Regions from separate parts of the Homo sapiens genome. Here region 2 is linked to region 1. Evidence: promoter capture Hi-C in 16 types of primary human blood cells and fetal thymus (Javierre and others, 2016). All regions are on one chromosome and are shown on one strand. The core of a region is centred on a gene start or on the middle of the fragment in contact, and the rest is flanking DNA. Distances in the headings are between cores, read along the strand shown. Region 1 holds the start of TLR7 (toll like receptor 7). Region 2 overlaps PRPS2 (phosphoribosyl pyrophosphate synthetase 2).

The links. Contacts are between HindIII fragments. The CHiCAGO score rates a contact against its expected background, and 5 or more counts as called.
Region 2: a fragment that was not itself captured here is called in contact with the fragment with the promoter of TLR7 in region 1 in 3 of 17 cell types (total B cells, monocytes and naive B cells); the score reaches 7.5 in total B cells.

What each region holds. Positions count from the first base shown.
Region 1 is chrX:12,865,411-12,868,680 of GRCh38, forward strand. It overlaps TLR7 (toll like receptor 7), which reads left to right and starts at 1,662. Exons shown (of 3, transcript NM_016562.4): 1 at 1,662-1,713; 2 at 2,071-2,171. The coding sequence starts at 2,169. RefSeq lists enhancers at 2,500-2,569, 2,590-2,709. The HindIII fragment of the contact is 8,610 bases long and covers 426-3,270 here.
Region 2 is chrX:12,814,053-12,817,322 of GRCh38, forward strand. All of the region lies in intron 4 of PRPS2 (phosphoribosyl pyrophosphate synthetase 2), which reads left to right. Among named protein-coding and RNA genes, the nearest start is that of PRPS2, 24 kb to the left of the region's middle. The HindIII fragment of the contact is 2,432 bases long and covers 538-2,969 here.

The DNA.
Region 1 (3,270 bases), core at 412-2,911:
CCTGCCAGGAAACAGACGGCATGTTAAAGTGAGAAACTGATGAGTTCAGCAAAGTGACTATTTATATATTTGGACAGGATTTAAGGAAGTAAGAAAGGATGATGCAACACTTCAGAGGGGAGTCTTTCCGACCTCAGGCTGAAGGAGAAGGAACGATTACTGGAATTCAGGGAGGAGAGCATCACCAAACAAGAGCTTCATTAGAGGACTGCAGCCAACGCAGGGCCAGGCGGAGGGAGCCAGAGGGAGGCAGGCTCTGCTCTCCCTCTTCCTGCCCTTCAGTTTCCAACCACGGCCTCCTATTGGCCAAACCCAACCAGAAGCCAGCGAGCAAGGGGCTACTGATGAAGCACATATAGCTCAGCCTCCAGAGACACAGAACAGGATAAAAGGCTGAGACAGTGGGTCTGGTGGGGCAAAGAGAAAGCTTGCACCTGCCAGGTAAAGCATTATAGTCCCCATCCTCCCCCCACCACCTTAGTTCTTGTGCATTTCCCATCAGTTTTCTTCCAAAGCATTTCAGATCTCACTGATTTGAATGGGACCTCTTCTTCTATTACCAATTTGGATCAGTAATTATTTATGTATGAGAAAACTATTGATTTTTACATATCGTTGCATAGCAGAGTGGTTTAATAAGGAGACATTTGGTTTTTACTGCCTGTGTGGGTATCACTTGCTATGTGACTTGAGGCAAATCCAATATTTCTTCTGTTATAAATTCCAGTATTTGTAAAAAATGGGTAATAAGATCTCTATTTTATATAGTTTTAGTATTTAATGAGATAATACATATAAAGTCATTAAAACAGTGTCTGGCTCATAAAAAACCCTCAATAAATGTCACTTATTACTGTATCTGGTTTTTGAGCTGCTCTATTGCACCATTGAGTTTTCAGCCCAGTATATGTTAACCCTGATCATTATCTGCAGAAGTCCCCGTGCCACACTCTACATCATCCAAATTCTCTCCAGGTGGACTAAGTAGATTAAAGAACTTTAAACATAACTACCATATTTTGGCTCTATCTACAAAATGTCCAATAATCAGTTAAGAAAGGAACAATTCTCTTGGGGCCCACACTTTGAGAAGCAAATGCAGCTGAACTTTTTTAGAGGAAAGTGAGTGAACCAACTGGTAGCTTTGCCACTGCTTAAAAACCAGCATCCTTTCCAGCTGGGTCTAAGACAGAATAAGGTAAATTTAGATATGTCTCTAATATATCTATAGAACAGTGGTTCTCAACCCGGGGTGTTTTTGCCCCTTAGGGGATAATTTGCAATGTCTGGAGACATCTGTGATTGTCATAACTGGAAGGGGGCAGTGCTATTGGCATCTAGTGGGTATAGAGCAAGGGTGCTACCAAATATCCTATGGTGCAACAGAGAATTATCTGGTCAAAAATGTAAATAGTGCTGAGGGTGAGAAACCCTGCTATAAAAACGAAAGAAATTTGGTCTACAGAGTTGTTTGGATTTAGACAAGACGTTGCCCCAATAGTGGTGATAGAAATAAGAGGAACCCCGTGCTTTTGCAAAGCCCATATCTGGGGTGGCTTAAATAATCATGCTCCTCCCCATCCCCCGACCTGATCTTTGTAGTTGGAAACTCCAGGGCTGGCTGCCTGTAGTCTTTGTGACTACACTTCCTGCCTCCCATCACTTCATCTCAGAAGACTCCAGATATAGGATCACTCCATGCCATCAAGAAAGGTATTTTAAACATTGGAACACATATAGATAATTTAAGTAGGTAGATGTATGTGCTGTTATAAGGAAGTGGGGAGGAGAGAAGAGGGAACCGAAATCATATGCACAAAAATTTTTTTTAGAATATAAATAAAAAATGTGGTAGTCTAAAATGTCAATTCTTCAAAGATAAAGTTAGGCTTTCAGTAACGTTAGAAATGGTTTTCTGGAATATGTCTCCAGTCTACCTAACTTTGAGGAAGTAAATACTGTAAATAGATGTTTCAAACGCATTTTAAAGCAATGATCCTAGCATGTCTTTAAGCTACAGTATTGTGCTGTCTTTGAAATGTAAACTTTGATGTCTTCTCTTTCTCTTAGTTGATGCTATTGGGCCCATCTCAAGCTGATCTTGGCACCTCTCATGCTCTGCTCTCTTCAACCAGACCTCTACATTCCATTTTGGAAGAAGACTAAAAATGGTAAGAACAGCTCAGAGAACCTTAAAAAGTGTTATCTGTAATCTTTGTGGAAACAACTGAAACCAGCTGGCAAGAGCAATATTGAAGAATCTGTACTTAGGTTATTTGCTGGGGGAAAGTGCTTCCTGATATTTCACAATTGGCATTAATGAAGGGGGCATGTCACAATTTCAGATTAATCAACGCTTGCTCTGTTCAACTTCCTACAAGAATTAAATATGTGCTGTGGGGAGGAGGAGCAGATGTTTGAATTGGGGACATAGCTTCTATGTATCTCATTTCTTCAGCCTACAATTTTGGCTTTAAAGCCATAACAAATCACTGAATTACTGAAGTTACTTTGTGCTTTTTCCAGCATATGGTGTTGTCTTAATGACTGTGTGGATGAAAGTGTGTGGGCAGGCTCATAGCAATAAAATACGGGAAATCCCCGGGCTTGAGTGCTGTCAAAGAAAACTAAATTTGGACAGTAGATAAAGATACTATCAGGACTATTGCAATCGGCAGAAAGAGACCTCAGTATAGAAAGGGGCTCAATTCCAAATACAGCCAAAGACCAGTAAAGATTTCTGGCCAAGGAGTAGAGTGGGGGTCAGTGGATGGAAAATTACTAAGAGGAAACATCAAGGGTAAAAGGATTCTGGCTAAACCGACCTGACAGGATTCTTGCTGAAGACAGGCCAGGGTGATCAGACCTCACCTGTGGATGGTGGGAGATGAGGAATTTGATCAGATATTGAGGGTGATCACATACCAAGAGGAGTGGATTATCAATAAAATGACTTAGCAGGATTCCTGCTTGAACTGGGCAATGCAAAGATGGACATGAAGCCAAAGGCCGAAGCCTAGGGGTGTAGTAGAGCCTGATTAAGTTGAATTAAGGAGAGTCTTTGTCAGCGCTGGCTCTCCCAGTCACTAGTTGGGGGGGCCTTGTGCCTGTCATCAAAGTCCTCTGAAACTCAATTTCTCTGACTATGAAATAGGCATTAGAATCCCTCCCCTGTTGCCTTCCAGGGCCACTGTGAGGCTCAAATAATAGACTATTTTTCAAGTCCTTTGCAAGTGGTATGATGCAAGTGTGAGTTATTAGGTATGCCAA
Region 2 (3,270 bases), core at 504-3,003, 51 kb before region 1:
GAATCCAGCCCCCCCACCCCCGACTCTACTGTCTAGTTTTTCCAAAACTATTTATTAAATAATCCACCTCTATTGATTTGAAATGGCATCTTTCATCATATACAGAGTTCCCCATTTCAAATAGATAGCTATTTGCCAACTCCTACTTTTAAAAAAATGCAGAATAAAGTAAACAGAATAAATGGCTGGGGTTGAGATGCTGTTTTGTTTTGTTGAGACCTCCTTTCAAGCAGTCTGCACTCAATCACCCCTGCTCCCTCTGCCAGGAAAATCAAGCTTTTTAGGGAAGTACATTTCAGAATTTTTGTCACCTCCTTTCTCTTTTCCAAGTGTTTCTGCTACACATTATTGTCATCCTCATATTCTAGCCCCCAACTGACAGTCTCCTCAGAACAGCCTTGCGGGTAATACATGACATATGCAGTTGACATTATCTGTGACTTCTTTGCTTGATGCAAAAGGTCATAGTTAGCAAAATAAAATACTGTAAATTTCTGTCTGACCAATTGGAGCTTGTTGCTTTAGAAAAAGCTTTGAAGCTTGACTCGTTCCGGGTAAAACTGAATGTTGCCACAGGAGGTCACTCTTGGGTAGGCTTTGTAGCTTGGTTGGGTTGACCACGGAAAGAAAATTAAACCTAAGAAACCTACCTACCACTGCTGAGATAGCAAGTGTCAACCTAAAAGTGGTATGGGAAGAGGGTAAAACTAGATAACTCAGATTTAACTTTTTTTCTGATTACATAATCTTTGAAGATGCTCTATAGGAAATTTGGAAAGTAGAAAGAAGAAAATCTTAACACTTTATATCTCAACCAGTGATGCCACTATGAATAATTTGGTGTACTATGTATCTGTCTCTCCTGGGGGAGCTGATATGGCACATGCACCCACAGAGAAAAGATTGTAAATATGTGCCCAGAAGAAATCCAAAACTGTATGTATATAATTTTCGTTCTGCCTTTTTCTGCCTAAGATTTCAGTGTGGTATGTTGTGTCAACATCATTTGTTAGGAGTATGTATTAGGTCTCCATGATATACAAGGAAAAGAAGAGTTACCTATAGCTTTTTCAGGAAATCATAGCGTTCTAACAACCCAGGAAGCTGTTTGCAGGGGTATTTTCTCTTATCTTCTTCTTCTGACATTACCATTGGATACCTTTTAGTGGCTAGGGCTCCCCACTCAAGTGAGATGTCTGTGTCCCCCACTGCCAAGAACCACAGAGCTCACCTTCTTTCCCAGTCCCACTTCCATGCCTACCCTGCTGTCTGCTTGTGAGCAGGCTCGTGAGAACAGGCGCCACCTGGCAGAGAGATGAAAACAGGTTCTGCTTTAACTTCTCCGGTATAGAACTTCCACCACAAAGGGCAGTGCTTCCCAGTGCTGGGCTGTGGATTGGTATCCTGTCATGCCCAAATCTGCCTAGTCGTTACCAAATAAGCAGACGGTAATGTATGTGGACATTTTGTGCGAGGTGTTCATGTGTCTTGGGAAAACCTGTCTCATGTTCCCAGAAAGTAGCTTTCCTTACCTGGAGTTTGAGTGGCTTTTATGACATTGGCATGTAGATAATAGAACTGTACGTGTTTTTTTGTTTGTTTGTTTTTTGAGATGGAGTCTCGCTCAGTCGCCCAGGCTGGAGTGCAATGGCGTGATCTTGGCTCACTGCAACCTCCACCTCCCGGGATCAAGCGATTCTCCCGCCTCAGCCTCCCAAGTAGCTGGGGTTACAGGCAGCCACCATCATGCCCGGCTACTTTTTGTATTTTTGTAGAGATGGAGTTTCACCATGTTGGCCAGGCTCATCTTGAACTCCTAACCTCAGGTGATCCACCCACCTCGGCCTCCCAAAGTGCTGGGATTACAGCTGTGAGCCACCGTGCCTGGCTGAACTGTAGGTGTTTTAAGGTGATGATGGAGCAAAATTTTTGTTGGCCTTTAAATTAATTTTTTTAATTAAATCTTTAAGTAAGGAAACTGTTGACAGCTAGACAAGTTTACAAACAAAGGGTATCTGCTAGGGCTACTGTGGTTTTGGTTGCATCCTGAAGAATGAGTGTTTTAAGGGTAGGATGAGTGTTCTAAGGGTAGGAGAAACATGGACCTCAATATAGTAATGATTCCCTTTGCTTCAAGGACGTTGATGTCTTATTCTCTTATCTCACAGTCTCTGTGTTTAACTGGAAAGTTTGGTCCCTTTTCTTTTATGATAATTGACATAGTTGGATTTATGACCACCACCTTACTATGTGGTTTTTTTGTTTTTGAGACAGAGTCTTGCTCTGTTGCCCAGGCTGGAGTGTAGTGGCGCGATCACAGCTCACTGCAGCCCCCGATCTCCCAGGCTCAAGTAATCCTGCCACCTTAGCCTCCCAAGTAGCTGGAACTAAAGGCGCATGCCACCATGCCTGGCTAATTTTTGTATTTTTTGTAGAGATGGGGTTTTACTATGTTGCCCAGGCTGGTCTCCAATTCCTGGGCTCAAGTGATCTGCCTGCCTCGGCCTCCCAAAATGCTGGGATTATAGGTGTGAGCCACCATGCTTAGCTACTATATGCTTTAGTTTTTCCTTCTCCACAAAGTAGACATTATTATTATTTTGGTTTTGTACAATCAACATTTGTTTAGATTTGTCCACATATTGATCAATATCTTTGCTTACCTTTCTCTGCCCCTGCCCCTCACCACATCTCAATGTATCTGTGGTGATTTTCCTTTTGCTTAAGTTGCATTCTTTAAGTGGTTATATGTTAGAAATAAATTCTCAGGTTGTATAGTTTGGCTGAAACTATCTTTATTTTGCTCTCCTTCTGGAAAGGCAGTTTTGCTGAGTATAGACTCCTAGCCTGAGAGTTATTTTCTCATATCACATTGAAGATATGACTCCATAACTTCTGGCTTCCATTGGGGAAGTTGAGGACTTGGCCATCCTTACTAGGTGACTTGTCTTTATTCTTTGTCTCTTTTAAGCTTTCTTGGTCTTCTATAGTTTTGTTAAGATTGTTTGGGAATTCATTTGTTGGGTTTATTGGATCCGAGGATCCTCAGATCCAATAAACCCAACAAATCATCAGGAAACAGTTGTCAGAAGACATCATTGGTCCTGTGTTTCCTACGGAAATAAAAAACAATAAATATTGCACTGAATGTTTGTGGTTTGGTGTCCCTGAATAATAAAGAAGGAACATATTTGCAAAAAGTTGCATAGGGTTTTTTTATGCAGAATTTTGTCAGAAGACAGTGGTGCTGCCATGTTTTTCTTTGAGTGC